Linked DNA regions of Homo sapiens: regions 2, 3, 4, 5 and 6 are each linked to region 1. Evidence: promoter capture Hi-C in 16 types of primary human blood cells and fetal thymus (Javierre and others, 2016). All regions are on one chromosome and are shown on one strand. Each heading gives the region's core, a stretch centred on a gene start or on the middle of the fragment in contact. The rest is flanking DNA. Distances are from core to core; before and after follow the strand shown.

The links. Contacts are between HindIII fragments. The CHiCAGO score rates a contact against its expected background, and 5 or more counts as called.
Region 2: a contact is called between a fragment that was not itself captured here and the fragment with the promoter of ZMPSTE24 in region 1, in 1 of 17 cell types (naive B cells). The highest score is 5.2, in naive B cells.
Region 3: a fragment that was not itself captured here is called in contact with the fragment with the promoter of ZMPSTE24 in region 1 in 5 of 17 cell types (erythroblasts, naive B cells, naive CD4 T cells and 2 more); the score reaches 7.4 in erythroblasts.
Region 4: a fragment that was not itself captured here is called in contact with the fragment with the promoter of ZMPSTE24 in region 1 in 17 of 17 cell types (naive B cells, total B cells, total CD8 T cells and 14 more); the score reaches 14.0 in naive B cells.
Region 5: a contact is called between a fragment that was not itself captured here and the fragment with the promoter of ZMPSTE24 in region 1, in 8 of 17 cell types (erythroblasts, naive B cells, megakaryocytes and 5 more). The highest score is 7.9, in erythroblasts.
Region 6: a contact is called between a fragment that was not itself captured here and the fragment with the promoter of ZMPSTE24 in region 1, in 5 of 17 cell types (naive CD4 T cells, naive B cells, total B cells and 2 more). The highest score is 7.4, in naive CD4 T cells.

The regions. Positions count from the first base shown.
Region 1 is chr1:40,256,757-40,259,814 of GRCh38, reverse strand. ZMPSTE24 (zinc metallopeptidase STE24) reads right to left here and starts at 1,579. Exons shown (of 10, transcript NM_005857.5): 1 at 1,421-1,579. The coding sequence starts at 1,543. RefSeq lists enhancers at 1,169-1,268, 1,359-1,638, 1,719-1,988, 2,219-2,348. The HindIII fragment of the contact is 15,848 bases long and covers 1-3,058 here.
Region 2 is chr1:40,049,718-40,052,683 of GRCh38, reverse strand. All of the region lies in intron 1 of CAP1 (cyclase associated actin cytoskeleton regulatory protein 1), which reads right to left. Among named protein-coding and RNA genes, the nearest start is that of CAP1, 10 kb to the right of the region's middle. The HindIII fragment of the contact is 2,679 bases long and covers 290-2,966 here.
Region 3 is chr1:40,074,201-40,076,700 of GRCh38, reverse strand. The region is part of intron 8 of PPT1 (palmitoyl-protein thioesterase 1); the gene reads left to right. Among named protein-coding and RNA genes, the nearest start is that of PPT1, 22 kb to the left of the region's middle. The HindIII fragment of the contact is 2,472 bases long and covers 15-2,486 here.
Region 4 is chr1:40,417,679-40,420,623 of GRCh38, reverse strand. The region is part of intron 9 of SMAP2 (small ArfGAP2); the gene reads right to left. Among named protein-coding and RNA genes, the nearest start is that of ZFP69B-DT, 31 kb to the left of the region's middle. The HindIII fragment of the contact is 254 bases long and covers 1,459-1,712 here.
Region 5 is chr1:40,091,494-40,094,193 of GRCh38, reverse strand. It overlaps PPT1 (palmitoyl-protein thioesterase 1), which reads left to right. Exons shown (of 9, transcript NM_000310.4): 2 at 1,687-1,796; 3 at 2,022-2,149. Among named protein-coding and RNA genes, the nearest start is that of PPT1, 4.4 kb to the left of the region's middle. The HindIII fragment of the contact is 1,680 bases long and covers 611-2,290 here.
Region 6 is chr1:40,450,119-40,453,018 of GRCh38, reverse strand. ZFP69B (ZFP69 zinc finger protein B) reads right to left here and starts at 2,543. Exons shown (of 5, transcript NM_023070.3): 1 at 1,931-2,543. The coding sequence starts at 2,057. RefSeq lists an enhancer at 1,250-2,449 and a silencer at 2,665-2,900. The HindIII fragment of the contact is 217 bases long and covers 1,234-1,450 here.

The DNA of each region.
Region 1 (3,058 bases), core at 330-2,829:
CCACCCCGGGCAACATCTCTACAAAAAAATCAAACAATTAGCCAGGCACAGTGATCCGCACCTGTGGTCCTAGCAACTCAGAAGGCTGAGGTGGAGGTGGAGGGGTCGTTTGAGCCCACGAGTTCGAGGCTGCCTTGAGCTATGATGATGCTACTGTGCTCCAGTCTGGGTGGCAGAGTGAGCCCCTGTCTCTAAATACAATAAATATTCTATCCTGGCCAAGATGGTGAAACCCCGTCTCTACTAAAAATACTAAAATTAGCTGGGCGTGGTGGCACGTGCCTGTAATCCTAGCTACTCGGGATGCTGAGGCAGGAGAATCATTTGAACATCCCTCCCTCTGCGCGCTGCTGGCAGTGTCACAGACACACTCTTCCCCTTGCAGACTCTCCCTCGTCCCTCCTAGTTTCTTGCAGTGAGCCGAGATAACGCCACTGTACTCCAGCCTGGTGACAGAGCTAGACTCTAAAATTAAATAAATAAATAAAGATTAAAAATAAATAAATAAAAGTTCAGATCTCTAAACCATGGTTATCTCAGGTAAATTGTTAACTTTCACTTTTTATTTTACCATTTTAATATTTAAACTAAAATAATGTTGATTTTATGAAAAACGAGAAATATATTTCATTTAATTTCATTTATTTATTTATTTTGAGATTGAGTTTCACTCTTGTCGCCCAGGCTGGAGTGCAGTGGCACAATCTCAGCTCACTGCAACCTCCGCCTACTGGGTTCAAATGATTCTCCTGCCTCAGCCTCCCAAGTAGCTGGGACTACAGGTGCGCGCCACCACACCCGGCTAATTTTTCTATTTTTAGTAGAGACGGGTTTTCGCCACGTTGGTCAGGCTGGTCTCGAACTCCTGACCCCAGGTGATCCGCCCGCCTCGGCCTCCCAAAGTGCTGGGATTACAGGCATGAGACACCACGCCGGGCCCGATAAGTTTTTTGTTTGTTTGTTTGTTTTTTCAAGCAGAAACAATATATGCACTTTAAGGAGAAACAAGAGTGCAAGTTCTTGGAAGGACTGCAAAATCCTATGGTTAGGCATGATTACATAAATGTCATGAGGAAGTTGGGTGTCTAAATCCTTTTAAAGGCTTATTCCAAAGATAAAGGAGGCCAAGTCTGGGCCCAAGGATCCCAAGGAAGCTGCAGGGAGGGCACAAGAGCCCAAGCCTTCCTCCAGGCCCTAAAGGGATTGGGTCCCATGATAACGTTACAGAAAACTTCCTTGACGCACCAAGACCCTCCTCAAAGCCACAGTCCGCCATCGGGCCAAGTTACGAGACTCAGCAGGGACCACAAAGACGAGACTGGCGCGGGGACCGAAGCAATCAAGAGTCTCAGGGTCGAAGCCAAGGCTACTCCAGGGCTGGCCGGGTATGGGGGTCAGGTTGGACCCTGTCTAGGCTCACCTGCCGCTGTGCTAGGAAGGTCTCCCAAAGATACACTGTCCAGGAAAAGAGCAGCACGGCCCCGAAGATACGCTTCTCGGCCGGCATCTCCCACAAAGCGTCCAGCGATGCCCACATCCCCATGGCCACCCGGTTCCGCCGGCTCCTTCAGCGTGCACCGGTGCCACACCGACACTCGTCCCTTCAGAGCGTCCCCGCGGTGTCACAGCAATATCCGTTCTTTCCGAGGGCCCCTACGCCGATACCCGCCCCCATCCCTCCCTCTGCGCGCTGCTGGCAGTGTCACAGACACACTCTTCCCCTTGCAGACTCTCCCTAGTCCCTCCTAGTTTCTACAGGAAAAGCCCCAGCCCCACCTTCCTCACTTCCGGCCCAAAGAGGGCGGGGACCCAAACGCCGAGTTCCGGGCCCGGCTGAGCTGTGTTGCATCAACATTCTTCCCCCACGTCTTGACGCTGGGTTCCGGCCTAGGGTTCTGGCTTTCCTCCTGGGCTAGTGAACGCGGCGAAGTCCTCCTCTTTCTAATCTCCAGAGCCGCAGTTCCATCCTCTGGGTCAGCGGCTTACCCTGACTGGGCTGCGGTATCTGCCTTCCTTCCCCCAACAAGGCGACAGGTAGTCGGGGCTGGGGCCGGAACTGACTGAGTGGGCCGCAACTGACTGAGTGGGCCGCGGCTCCCGCCTGAGGAGGCTAGGAAGGACTGAACAGCAGCCGACTTCCCAGGCTCTAAAAATCGTGCCTCTGAGTTAGAGCTACCTCAAAAGCAAGACCAAGCATGAGAAATGGAGTCTTTTGGCCAGTATTGGGGTGTTCGGAATTCAAGCGTATGAGAGAGTGGACGGTAGCGTTGAGAATTTTCATTTGAAGATCTCGTCTTAACCACCCCAAGTGTAGTCAGAGGCGGCGTTTTCCCTGCGAGAGTGCCCTGGAACAAAGCAAGGATAGCGTGGGTTAGACATACCTGAAATGAAAGCGTCTTACTTTATCTAGGTACATATTTGCGTCAGTAAGGCGCAACGCCATTTCTCTCTTGGAATTCAGAAGTGAAATATGGTGACTGGGACGCCTGTACATTGCTTTGACTTAAAAATTGAAGTCCATTATTCTGACCGAAAGTTAATCTGATGATTAATTGGTTAAACATACTATCGTTGCTAATTAGCATAATTATTATTTACAATAAAGTGAGCTAAATAGCTACAACTAAAATATATTTAAATTACTGTGATATTGTGATGCTAAAGATGTGTTGAAATTAATATCTTGAATTTCTCAACCCTGCCTAAATGCCTCTGAGAGTAATTAGTATAATTAAAAGTCACTAGAGAAAGTGAATGACTCTAATAACAGGATAACAAATTCTTTTCAAGTCAGATGGTTTCCAGTTCTTTGCTTTCAACAAAATTAATGGTGGCCCATGAATTGTCAGCTGATGAAGGAACACTATTTGGTTTTTGGCATGCAACTCGGAAAGAAACCAAACGATTGATTGACATGCTTACAACAAAACTACTAGCATTCTCACCTATTTATGTAAAACCATTTCTCAGCACTTGTATCTGTGAAAACAACAGAATTGAAAATGAACCCTGTTAATCTACCAGTAGGAACTATTCATCCAGATAAATGAATTAATTG
Region 2 (2,966 bases), core at 380-2,879, 210 kb after region 1:
GATAGCTCACACCTATAATCCCAGCACTTTGGGAGGCCAAGGCAGGAGGATGGCTTAAGGCCAGAAGTTCAAGACCAGCCTGGGCAACATAGCAAAATCTCATCTCTTTTATTTAAATAAATAAATAAATAAGGCTTCTCCCAAACACAGAAGTATCAGAGCAGAGAACTGTATGTCTGCCTAATCTTGCTCCTTGCCATTTCTAATTGTCAATAACCAAGAACTATACGTAAACCTCCATAAATGAATGTCCGGATTCCCAACTACTTAAGCATTCATCATAAAAGCTTCAGAAACACAGGTGGTCAAAATTACACAAGTCCAAATAAAATTAGAAGACTGAGGCCTGAGTCCCAAGCTGTACATACTAACTGTGCAACTTTACACAGTCACATAATGGATTATAATCCTCATCTAGCATACACAGATATAAGGATCAAAGGAGGTGATTTCATAGATACGAGTAATCACTTCAGAAGCCTTAAAATGCAATTCAAATGTAAAATGTTAGCACTACATATTACGTACTAGAATATAGGCTCAAGAAGGATGGGAATTTATCCATTCTACCTCCTGCACTGACTCTATCTCCCAGCACCTAGAAAAACTAGGCACACAGAAGATGCTAATAAAATCAAAGTGCTTAGCATTGTGGGCCTACTGAAGAAATAGAAGACACATGGTCCCTCCCCTCCAGAAGCACTCATATTGGTTAAGACAACAAAATAAAATGTGAATGGAATAAATACTGTAGATTATATTTGTTAAAGTTTTTCTGCTTTTATTTAAAAAACAAAACAAAACAAAAAAAAACAGGCTGGGCGCGGTGGCTCACGCCTGTAATCCCAGCACTTTGGGAGGCCGAGGCAGGCGGATCACAAGGTCAGGAGATCGAGACCATCCTAGCTAACACTGTGAAACCCCGTCTCTAATAAAAAAAATTAGCCAGGCACGGTGGCAGGGGCCTATAGTCCCAGCTACTCAGGAGGCTGAGGCAGGAGAATGGCATGAACCCGGGAGGCGGAGCTTGCGGTGAGCCAAGATCGCGCCACTGCACTCCAGCCTGGGCGACAGAGTGAGACTCCATCTCAAAAAACAAAAAAACAAAACAAAAAAACCCCAAACAAACAAAAAACAGGGTCTGGCTCTATTGACCAGGCTGGAGGGCAATGGTGTGTTCACAGCTCACTGCAGCCTTGACCTCCTGGCTTCAGCCTCCTGAGTAGCTGGGACTACTGGGACTATAACTACATGCCACCATGCCTGGCTTTTGTGTGTGTGTGTGTGTATGTGTGTGATAGAGACAGAGTCTCACTATGTTGCTCAGGCTAGTCTCAAACTCCTGGGCTCAAACAGTCCTCTTGCCTCAGCCTCCCAAAATGCTGGGATTACAGATGTGAACCATGACAGCCAGCCTATATTTTTAAAAGTTTTATTATGGGAATATCCAGTTGGATTAGGGAAAGTTAAATTATCAGCCTATTCTTGCAGATTTTTCTTCACAGAATGTTGTTGCTACGGTTCTGAATTACATAAATTACTACATGCTCTGAGAGTTCAGAGGAAATCAATGAGGACTGGCGGTAGCTTGGTTTCAGGAGGGAAGTGAGGCATCTTGAAGAGGCAAGAGAAAAAAGGGAAGCCATTCCAGAGCAAGTCAAAAGCAAAAAAGGAGACCAAGCAGGCTATGTACAGAAAATGTGAGTGGGTTAGCCTGCATGGAACATGGAGTATTATAGGGAACAAGGATGCATGAGCAAGCTGGGCCAGATGATGGAGGGCACTGAAAGCCAGGGAAAATTTAAATTTGACGTTGTGATCAATGTGAAGCCATTCAAGGGTTTTGAGTGAAAGAATAATATGATGAAAGCAAAGAGCTTACAAGTACTGTCTGATAAACAGAATGGGATGTGGAGACAAGTGATGATATTAGGGTCTAGAAAGTTAGGTTAAAAGCTGTTATTCATCTAAAATAATGCTACTACAAAAGATATTTGTATTTATTTATTATTACTGTAATTTTTTGAGATGGAGTCTCACTCTGTTGCCCAGGCTGGAGTGTGATGGCATGATCTCAGCTCACTGCAACCTCCACCTTCCAGGTTCAAGCGATTCTCCTGCCTCAGCCTCCCGAGTAGCTGGAACTACAGGCATGCACCACCACGCCCGGCGAATTTTTGTATTTTTAGTAGAGACAAGGTTTCGCCATGTTGGCCTGGCTGGTCTCGAACTCCTGATCTCAGGTGATCCACCTGCCTTGGTCTCCCCAAGATATTTCAAAGGAAAAAAATCCACAATATTTGGTGTTTAACCAAATATTGGAACAAAATGAAAAGAATCAATTAACCTGTAAATAATCATCTTTAGGCAATTAAGAGACCAGCACCTGAATTAAGTGCTGTACAGAATATAAAAGAAAGGTAAAATAGTCTCCCTGTCCTAAGGGAGTCTAGCAGGAGAGACAAAGCTACCTTCTATCGACTCACTGGCTCTCAGGATTAGAGGGATTCTAGAAATCATCTTGTAAAAACACCATCTTATGCCAGAACAGTCCTTTCAATTAGCAATTAGTCAGGCAGCCTCTGCTCAAACACCTTCAGTGATGGAGAACCCGAGACTTCTGGAGGCAGTCCATTCCATTCAGACAGCTCAAAGTATTAAAAAGTTCTTCCTTATATGGAGGCAAATCTGCCTCCCTGCAACTTCCACCCACGAATCTTGGTTCTGCCCTAGGAGGTCATATGAAACAAGTGTGCATTAAACTGAGAACAAGTACTAACTGTATGGTACTGACTGTGAGCACAGCAGCATTCAGAGAAGGGAGGCAAAGATGACTCCTGATTTGCAAATATGGGGGCCTTAAGAGAATAATGACATTATAGGCAGAAATGGGTTGTGGCATGTTCTAGTTAGGGCAACAAGATGAGGTCAGTTTTGGATATGCTGAGTTTGAAAAGAAGACAAAG
Region 3 (2,500 bases), core at 1-2,500, 180 kb after region 1:
ATATGGGTGAAGCTTGTTAGGCTCTTGATTATGTGCTCTAGCTTATTAGGCACTGGGTTACAAAAATCCACTACATCCTGAAACCTTATGGTTTCCAAACAACAAGAGAAACCTCATGTCTGATTCCCTTCTTTTGATAAAAAGGTTTTAAAACTAGCTGCCTTGGCTGAGGTACAGTCTGCTACAAATCCAGGAAGCCTCCATGCATGATGAGGGGCATTCCTTTTTTTTTCTTTGAGACGGGGTCTCGCTCTGTCACCCAGGCTGGAGTGCAGTGGAGCAATCTTGGCTCACTGCAACCCCTGCCTCCCAGATTCAAGCAATTCTCCTGCCTCAGCCCCCTTAGTAGCTGGGATTACAGGTGTGTGCCATCACACCTGGCTAATTTTTGTATTTTTAGGAGAGATGGAGTTTCACCATGTTGGCCAGGCTGGTCTTGAACTCCTGACCTCAGGTGATCCACCCACCTCAGCCTCCCAAAGTGCTGGGATTACAGGCGTGAGCCAGTGCGCCTGGCCAAGGGACATTACTTTTAAACATTAATAGATGTGAAATCCTGTTTCTAAATTACGCACTGACAAGGGAGGCTCCTGCAGGAGGTTGAGTGGGACTAGAGTTTTGAATTTTGTTTAGCAGTAGGTCCTGTATCTTAAGCAGAAGTTGCAGTAATTTGCCACCTCCAGTTCTGGGGCCTTCTACACTTTAAGGATTTTTTTTTTTTTTTTTTTTTTTTTTTTTTTTTGAGACAGTCTTGCTTTGTCACCCAGGCTGGAGTGCAATGGTGTGATCTCAGCTCACTGCAGCCTCCACCTCCTGGGTTCAAGCGATTATCCTGCCTCAGCCTCACTAGTAGCTGGGATTACAGGCACACGCCACCATGCCTAATACTTTGTTTTGTTAGTAGAGACGGGGTTTCACCATGTTGGCCAGGCTGGTCTTCAACTCCTGACCTCAGGTGATCCACCTGCCTCAGCCTTCAAGAGTGCTGGGATTACAGGTGTGAGCCACCACGCCCAGCCCTAAGGATTTTATATTGGAGACAGACTCTCCAAAATGCTAAGTACTACATCTGAACCAATCACCGTCTACTAGAATTCCTCCATGTTATTTCAGAGGTCATTTGTCTCCTCTTGGCTTGGCTTTTCTTTTGCACTGGGTGCCTCAACTTGGGTGGTGAGGTAAAAAGGGAAGCTAGAATCTGATTTGAGAAAAAAAAAAAAAAAGGCTTGAGAAATTACAGCTAAGAACTTCCTTACTGTGAAAACTCAAAATGATGTTGGCCACGGCAGAAGCACCATTCTGGCACTGTCGTAACTGCTTATCTTCCCAACCAGAGGTTGTTCTCCAGCATCTAGGCTATGGGTAATGACATTTTCAACTCCAGAATATGAAAGTGTCCAGGGTTTGTTACCTAACGGTTGGATATGGTTTTTCTGTTTTGTTCTTTTGAGACAGTTTTGCTCATTGCCCAGGCTGGAGTGCAATGGCATGATCTCAGCTCACTGCAACCTCCGCCTCCCGGGTTCAAGCGAATTCTCCTGTCTCAGCCTCCCAAGTAGCTAGGATTACAGGTGCCCGCCACCATGCCCAGCTAATTTTTGTATTTTTAGTAGAGACAAAGTGTCATCATATTGGTCAGGCTGGTCTTGAACTCCTGACCACAGGTGATCCGCCTGCCTTGGCCATCCAAAGTGCTGGGATTATAGGCGTGAGCCACCGCGCCTGTCCTGGGTTGGATGTTTTTTAAGTTACCTAGCTAATGTTCTGTCTTTGGCTCAGTCCCACTTACCTATGGCATTCTGAGGCAGTGTCGTCTATGGCTTGCCCACCTATAGGTAGTCCTCTGACTCTGAGCTTTTCAAAAATCAGAATCTAGAACACTGTATAGAGCAATCTCAATTGCATATCTATTTTTAATACTTAGAAAAAACTGGCCGGGTGTGGTGGCTCACGCCTGTAATCCCAGCACTTTGGGAGGCCGAGGCACGTGGATCACCTGAGGTCAGGAGATCAAGACCATCCTAGCTAACACAGTGAAACCCCATCTCTACTAAAAATACAAGAAATTACCCAGGCATGGTGGCATGCGCCTGTAATTCCAGCTACTCATGAGGCAGAGGCAGGAGAATCGCTTGAGCCAGAGAAGTGGAGGTTGCAGTGAGCCGAGATCGCACCACTGCACTCCAGCCTAAGCAACCGAGCAAGACTCCGTCTTGAAAGAAAGAAAGAGAAAGAGAGACAGAGAGAGAGAGAGGAAGAAGAAGAAGAAGCGGGGGGGACAGGAGGAGGGGGAGGAGAGAAGAAAGAAAAGAAAGGAAGAAAGAGAAAGAAAGAAAAAGAAAAAAGAGAAAGAAAAAGAAGTAGGAGATATTCTTTTTGGCATTTTTGAAAATACACCTCAATTTTAATACTCAGGACAAACTGCATTTTGAAAATATATCTCAAGTTAACGTACTTACCATTTTACTCCAAAACTTCATTAAGCTTTTTAATTAATTAT
Region 4 (2,945 bases), core at 336-2,835, 160 kb before region 1:
TGAGGTAGTGACTATATTTCTTTCATTATAATTAATAAATAATCTGAAGGGCATTTCTTTGCAAATGTGTCAATCCTTTGCTCTTTTTACAACTACTGTCATTCTTCTGTAAAGAAGGCTTTTCCTCCCTCCATTCCACACCTGGTTTTTAAAAAATATCACCGTGGACTCATGGTTTTGTTTTGTTTTTTCCATTCAGTGTGTCATAATCCATTACTGTTGTTACTCTTTTTGATGTTCAAATTGTCTCACATTTGGCCAGTCAGAGCCACTGGAAGTTGGCTCATGCGTCCCTCTGACATATTCCCATCAGACTTATAGCATTCCATTACTTATATAAATAAAAACGAAACAATGAAAATAAGTGAATTAAAATCTCCACTATGAAAGCTAGAAAATAACAAAGTAAACCCATAGAAAGCCTACGGAAATTGAGGTAGAAAACGGAAAAATGTAGCACCAATAAATCGAAATCCTGGTTCTTTGAAAAAAATTAATGAGACTGCTAGGCATAACTTTTGATAAATTTGAAAACCTTGGCGAAATGGAAAATCTAGGTAAATACAGTTTTCCAAAATTGACTTCCATAGAAGAAACAGAGAAAAGTATCAAAGATTTGCTACAAAAAAAGCAATAGTGCCCACAAACTTCACATGGGAATTCCACAAAACCTTCAAAGACCAGAGCTACATAAATTATTCTGGACCACAGAGAAACAAAAACATAAAAGTACTTCTTATAAATAAGTATAACCCTGATAAAGATAGCTATACATGCACATGTGCAGTACACATGCACCATACCACCTCTCTGGGGTTCCTTTGCCTGTCTCTTGGTTTTCACATTAAATCACTTTGTATTTCTTTGTACCTAGTGCAAAACTAGTGTTGCTTTGTTAGCCAATTTGAACATCATTTTCTTTTGATAGAAGAGTTGCCTACTGGTATGACTGGTATGTTTGGTCTCAACTCCATCATATTAGATTTTTACTGTGTTTATTGTATTTGCTGCACTTTGTAGTCTGTTTTTAAAAATTCTCAGCTGGGCGCAGTGGCTCATGCCTGTAATCCCAGCACTTTGGGAGGCCAAGGTGGGTGGATCACCTGAGGTCAGGAGTTTGAGACTAGCCTGGCCAACATGGTGAAACCCCGTCTCTACTAAAAAATACAAAAAAAATTAACCGGGTGTGGTGGCGGGTGCCTGTAATCCCAGCTACTCGGGAGGCTGACGCAGAAGAATCACTTGAACCCAGGAGGCGGAGGTTGCAGTGAGCCGAGATTGTGCCACTGCATTCCAGCCTGGGTGACAGAGTGAGACTTTGTCTCAAAAAAAAAAAAAAAAAAGAAAGGAAGAAAATTATCTTGGTATTCAGAACATTTCACGTGTTTGTTCTAGTGATTACCTTCATAGTAATACTTTTTAGCAATGTCCTTGGTCTCCTTTTTCCTTATTCAAGCTTCCGTGATTTGGTTTGTCAGCTTATTGCATCCTTCGATTTCTACTTCTTTCCCATACAATATTTATTATTCAACTTTTCTCCCTCCTCCTTCATTTTCAGTTGTATTTGTTTGTCAGAATATAATGTATATTCTGCAACGCTTGTCACCACCTTTGTTTTAGTCTTAGATTCTCAATTAAACATTCAATTCTCACCATCAGTTCTTTTGCCAAAAATGAAAATGACCCCAGTCATCTCTTAGGTGGATGAAGCTTATCTTCTGTTAGATTCCCCAGGAAAGTCTTGTAAGTGTGATATTCTCTGAGTTCTTGCATATTTATTTTTTACAGCCTTGATACCTGAAGGATAGCTTGGCTGGCTTGGTTGTAAAATACTTGTTGTGTCTTGCATACACTTGAGTGTCTTTAAAATACTACTCTCCTTGTTATTCTTTTTGTATTTTGCTGCTAGGAAGTCTGATGTCAACCTGGGTATTTTTTGTTTGTTCTAAGTAACAGATTTTTGTGGGTAGGAGGTATGGAAAAGGTTGGACCCCTAAACATTTTGAATGTTCTTTAAAGTCTGTAGATTTGCTGGGATATGTTTTAAAGTTGACTGTTCTGGGTCAATTTTCCCAGACACACAGTGGGCTCTTTCCATATTATATCCAAGTCTTTTATTTCTAGAATGTTTTCTGGTGTTAAACACATTAATACTGTCCCATATTTTATTTATTTTGTCTTTATTTCTTTGGGCATCTCCAAATATATGTAAGTTTTCTTTGCCTAACTTCCATATTAATTTCCATCTAATTCTTTTTACTACTTTCTATATTTAGTTTTCATTCTCTTAGCTGTTTCATGCCTTTCCTCAATGCCGAATATATTTTCAGCTCAATCTATTGTTCTTTAGCTAACTTGTAATTGAGTCTTTATACGAAAATTTTGGCTTTTTCTTCAATTTCTTTTCTGAGTTTAGTAAACTTTCATTTCACAGCATGCAGTTTTTTATCCATTTTGGCTTTAAGTTTTTGAATTTCTGATTTAAGGTGTTTTGTCTTATCTGCAAATGTTTAAGGACATTTAATTCAGATTGGTAGATTGTGTAACAATTTTCTTCTGCTTCATGACTGTTTTTTGAGGGAGAATATTCATTACGTGAAATGTTTTGATTTTCATTTTCTATTTTCTTCCTGTAGTAGTTGTGTACAAATGTCAGCTTCCATGTTTGGTTCATTTTTGTAAGGTCTTATTTTTTCTCAATCAGCAATAATAGGTGTGAAGGTTTGGGGAGGCTTACTAAATTTCTTAGATTAAGAGCACCATCTTTTATTAGTGAAGTGGTTATTTTGGAAGAGGGAAGAAGGTGTATATTTGATTTTGTGATTCTCATTCCCATTTCTCGTGTCTTTCTTTCCTTCACCACCAGTCCTCTAAAGGGTACCTCCTCCTTTTAGGCCATGCCCATCTCCCCGAGAAGCAATGCTTTCCCAAGGTTACTACCTATA
Region 5 (2,700 bases), core at 201-2,700, 170 kb after region 1:
CTAGATGCTTAATTTGCCTCACCCTAGTCCTGGCCCTGAAGAGAAAACTTTGCATCTGTTCACCCCAAATATCCCCTGTGATAGGGGAAGGGAATGTGTACCTCTGCTTATTTTTCATTTGTAAATTTGGTGTCTTAATTATCCTATATGGGCTTTTTGGTTTTTTTGAGACAGGGTCTCGTTATGTTGCCCAAACTGGTCTCGAACTCTTGGCCTCAAGCAATCCTCCTGCCTCGTCTTACCAAAGCGCTGGGATGATAGGTATGAGCCCATGCTTGGCCTATATGGATTTTTTTTTTTTTTTTTTTTTGAGATGGAGCCTTGTTCTGTTGCCCAGGCTGGAGTGCAGTGGCATGATCTTGGCTCACTGAAACCTCCACCTTTCAGTTTCAAGCGATTCTCCTGCCTCAGCCCCCCAAGTAGCGGGACTACAGACATGTGCCACCACACCCGGCTAATTTTTGTATATTTAGTAGAGATGGGGTTTCACCATGTTGCCCAGGCTGGTCTCGAGCTCCTGACCTTGTGATCCACCCACCTCGGCCTCCCAAACTGCTGGGATTACAGACGTGAGCCATGACACCCAGCTCCTGTATGGACTTTTGAAGCTTGTTATTACTTGATAAACAGGAGCTAAGCAAAAAATGTTCTTTCTTCTGTTTTTTAAAATTGAGGTAAAAATTCATGTAAAGTTAACCATTTAAAATGGTACGATTCAGTGGCATTTAGTGTATTTGCAATGTTGTGCAACTAACACTTCTTTTTCAACACCCCAGAAAAACACACATAGCCATTAAGCAATCACTCCCTATTGCCCCCTCCTACTACTTCTTGATAATCTCCAGCTTAGTTTTCTGTATCTCAGTGGATTTGCCTGTTCTTTATTTATCCTATGAAAGGAATCATGCATTATGTGGCTTTTTGAGTCTGGCTTCTTTCACTTAGTATAATGTTTCTGAGGTTCATTCAAGTTGTAACATGTGTCAGCACTTTGTTCCTTTTTTATAACTCAGTAATATTCCATTGTGTGAATATACCACATTTTATTCATTCATTCATTGATGGACTGCTGGATTGTTTCTCCCTTTTGACTATTACAAACACTGCTGCTGTTAACATCTATATGCAAGTTTCTGCATGGACGTGTGTTTTTATTTCTTTGGGGTGTATAACTAGGAGTTGAATTGCTGAGTCATTTAGTAATCGTATGTTTAACTTTTTGAGAAACCACCAAACTGTTTTTCACAGTGGCTGCTTATTACATTCCCACCAGCAATGTCCAAGGGGTCCCATTTTTCTACATCGTTGACAATACTTGTTATTTTCTATTAAAAAATTATTATTAAAGACATCCTAGTCTGTGTGAAATGGTATCTCATCGTGGTTTTGGTTTGCATTTCACATGCCAGTGGTTAGCCATTTGTATATCTTCTTTGGAAAAATATCTGTTTAATTTCTTTTCCCATTTTTAAATTAGGTTATCTTTTTGTTGAGTTGTAAGTGAGTTATAGATTCCTTGTATATTCTGGATATTAAGCCCTTATCAGATAACTGTTTTGCAAATATTTTCTTCCATTCTATACATTGTTTTCACATCCTTGATAATGCTGTTTGAGGCCTCAGAGTTTTTAAACAATAAACAATATTTGGACTCATGAGTTTCCATCATTGTGTTTTGTTGGCTAGGAGACAGCTGTTGCAATCCCTTAAGCATGGGTGCTATTAAAAAAATGGTGGAGAAGAAAATACCTGGAATTTACGTCTTATCTTTAGAGATTGGGAAGACCCTGATGGAGGTAAGGCGCTTCACAGCTGTTCCTTTGAAGGGTTGCTGACTGATTTCATAGCATATACTGTTAAAATGCTTTGCCTTGTGTTTTCAGCAGCAGATCATACAGTGATACTTTCACCCTTGAGTGGCTCATGTGAGGATACCAACCTAAATGAGTTTACCTCTTAGAGAAGATGTCAGTGGTTGTTTTCAGTCCCATCCTCTCACTTCTCTCTGGCTTCTTTTTTAGGACGTGGAGAACAGCTTCTTCTTGAATGTCAATTCCCAAGTAACAACAGTGTGTCAGGCACTTGCTAAGGATCCTAAATTGCAGCAAGGCTACAATGCTATGGGATTCTCCCAGGGAGGCCAATTTCTGTACGTTCCTTTTTGTTATATTGTACCACTTATATGGAATTGATTTTTGTTTCTTTTATTCAGATAAATCCACTCCTCCAATTCAAGATTGTCACCTATCTTGGAAGGGAAATTTCCTAAAATGTTCCTGTGTAAGAAGCTTTATGGAACTTAATTTCTTTTCTTTTTTTTTTTTTTTTGAGACAGAATTTCTCTCTTGTTGCCCAGGCTGGAGTGCAGTGGCGCGATCTCAGCTCACTGCAACCTCCACGTCCCAGGTTCAAGTGATTCTCCTGCCTCAGCCTCCCGAGTAGCTGGGACTATAGGTGCTCACCACCACACCTAGCTAATTTTTTGTATTTTTAGTAGAGATGGGGTTTTACCATGTTGTCTAGGCTGGTCTCGAACTCCTGACCTCAGGTAGTCCACCCACCTCAGCCTCCCAAAGTGCTGAGATTACAGGTGTGAGCCACCATGCCTGGCTGGAGCTTAATTTATTTTCTATGAAAGTTGAAAGAAATATTTGCATTTGCCCATATCAGGAAAATCCTGAAACTCTGCGGGTTTGGGGA
Region 6 (2,900 bases), core at 93-2,592, 190 kb before region 1:
ATTGAACTCCGGCTTGGGTGACAGGAAAAAAAAAAAAAAAAAACCACTAGGAATTAAGGCACATGAATAACTGTCTTTGTATTTTATTCCAACTTTTTATCATGAATATTGAACATCTATACATCCACATCTAGATTCAACAATTGTTAATATTTACCATATTTGCTTTACCTATCTACATTTTTTCTGAAGCACTTCAAAGTCGTCTGCATCATAATACTTTATCCCTAAATATTTCAAATAAGGATCTTCTCTTGTACAACCACAGTACTATTTATTAAATCTATGAAAATTAACAATAATTCCATAGTATCATCTAAATATTCAGTCCATATTCAGATTTCCTCAACTGTTTCCTCAACTTTTATTCTGGATTTTTTCCAAACCAGGAGTTAATCAAGGCTCACACATTCAAAGTGGTTGTTACCTCTAGTCTCTTTTACTCTAGAATAAGTACTTCCCCTTTCTTCATGATGTTGTCTTTTTAAGATACAAGAACAGTCTGACTGTATCCTCAATGTGAGGTTTATCTCATTTCTCCATCCCCTGTATTTTCTGTAAACCAGCAGTTCAGTCTTTAAACTTAATTTAGGATCATGTTCAACATTTTTGGTAGGAATACCTTGTAGGTGGTACCAGGTGCTTTATATTACAGTATCTGCAAAGTATAAAATGCCCGGCTATCCCATTACTGAGACATTTGATTAAAACTGTGACCACCACACCTCACTATTGGAAAATTATGTTCATTCCTTGCCATTTAGTAAGTAATTTGAGGGGATAATACTTTGATATCATGTGAGTATCTGTTCCCCATTAACCTTTCAATTATTTTATTTACGGTAAAAGATTCTATCATTCTTTCTACATTTATTTATTTATTTATTTATTTTTGAGACAAGGTCTTGCTCTGTCACCCAGCCTGGAGTGCAGTGGCGCCATCTCAGCTCACTGAAACCTCCCCTTTCCTAGTTCAAGCGATTCTCGTGCCTCAACCTCCCGAGTAGCTGGGATTACAGGCATGTGCCACCACGCCCAGCTAATTTTTGTATTTTTAGCAGAGATGGGGTTTCATCATGTTGGCCAGGCTGGTCTCAAACTGCTGACCTCAAACTCCTGGTCTCAAGCAATCCGCCCACCTTGGCTTCCCAAATTGCTGGGATTACAGGCATGAGCCACCACACCTGGCCTCTTTCTACCTTCATTATTGGCACGCATTTTCTGTAAAAAGCTTTCCCTCACCAACTGAAGAGGATCTAAAAGGCAAGGTAAATGCACATTCATTCCCATAATAACCTATTTTTCAAAGTAAGGAATCAGTGTATTAATTACCTCCAATGTTTGCAAATGAATTCCCCCCCCCCCACGTCTTTCTCTATTTTAAGTGTCAAGGTGATCATGTGGAATTTTACTTATTCAAGGTGTTACCATCAGTTTGGATACTTAAGCTTTCCCAAATCTGTCGAGTGAGAGACCCTTAAACCTGGCCTCTTTTGACACATATCCATAGTCTTTAAGCTCTTCCTTGCTTTCTAGCACAAGTTACTCCAGGCTCACCTGGTACTTCCCCTGCTGCTTCTCTTTCTGACCTAGCCACCAAGTTCCTGTGTGACCCTGGGCAGGCCTCCCATTTGATTTACATTTCCCCACTGTTAGAATAAGAAAAATCAGGTTAAGTCCATCCTGCCCCACATGGCCATGGGAAAGATGAAAATAAATAATATACATAACCATGACACTGAAATACTGGTCCTAGGCTGAAAAGACCACCACTACTTAGGAAAACCCCAGACTAGGAGCCACAATCAACAACTCCGGAAACCCTCCACCCACTCGTCTCCCTAAGAGATGCTTCCACTCAAGTGACTCATTCCTTCTCACACTAGAGGGGACTGCTTTTCCTCCCTCCCACCCATCAGTTTATTCTTACCTTCTGCTTTAAACATCTTAGTCACATCCTCCCACAGGGCCACCCGCTCCGTGGCCGCCTTTGGATGACGCAACTTCACCCAGGTGCTGGCCTCGGTGGGCAGGGTGATCAGGAGCTGCTGCAGCATGACGGCGTCCGCACTCCTTTCTGAGGACCCTCTGTCTTAGCCCATAGGGCTTGTCCACCTCTGATGAGGAAATTGCTGGAAGCTCTGACAGGAGGCTTCCCAATTGTACCGATCTCCTTAATCGCCGACTCCTACTCCTCAATGTCCTCTCTCAGGAACCCAGGGAACATACAGTATCAAAATCCGAGATCTGGACTTGTGTCTATCATCGGCTCTCAGGGCGTATCTCCCAACTTGAGCTCCATCTGTCTCCTTGGCCAGCAGCTGGAGGCGCCAAGTATTTACTCTCAGCAGCCCCTGCAGATGCTGAGCAGAAGACATTAGAATCAGCAAAGGACTAAGGAGGCTCAGTCATAGGGCAGAACGCTAGAACATATATGGATCACTGTAAAATGTTTCCAAAAGATACACGGAGACGGTGGGCAGACACAGCCCACAAAATTCAAAGCACCGCGCACATGTCAGGAAGCACAAAGAGACGAATACAACCCAATTCTTTGTTTGGGGCAGTAATTATGTGTAAAGTAGCCGGGGATTTGGAATCCCAGCTCTTTCACTAGTCGGCTGTAGCAAACCGCGAAACCGCTAGACCCCGCCTCCTCCTCCCCAAATGAGAGGCTAAGTCCTCCCCACAAAGCAAAACGCCCCCGGCCCTAGCCTCCCAGCCTTTGTCTGAGCACGACTCCGGGGCTGCGGAGAGCACCGCGCGCGACAGGGTGGCCGCGGGCGGAACTCGCGCTTCCCGGCTCGCCCAGCTCCCCAAGCCCGGGACAGCCACCCGCTCACCCTCTCCCCGCTGGGCCGGCACGCCCCCGCCTTCCCACCGCTGCAGCCGGGTTCCGG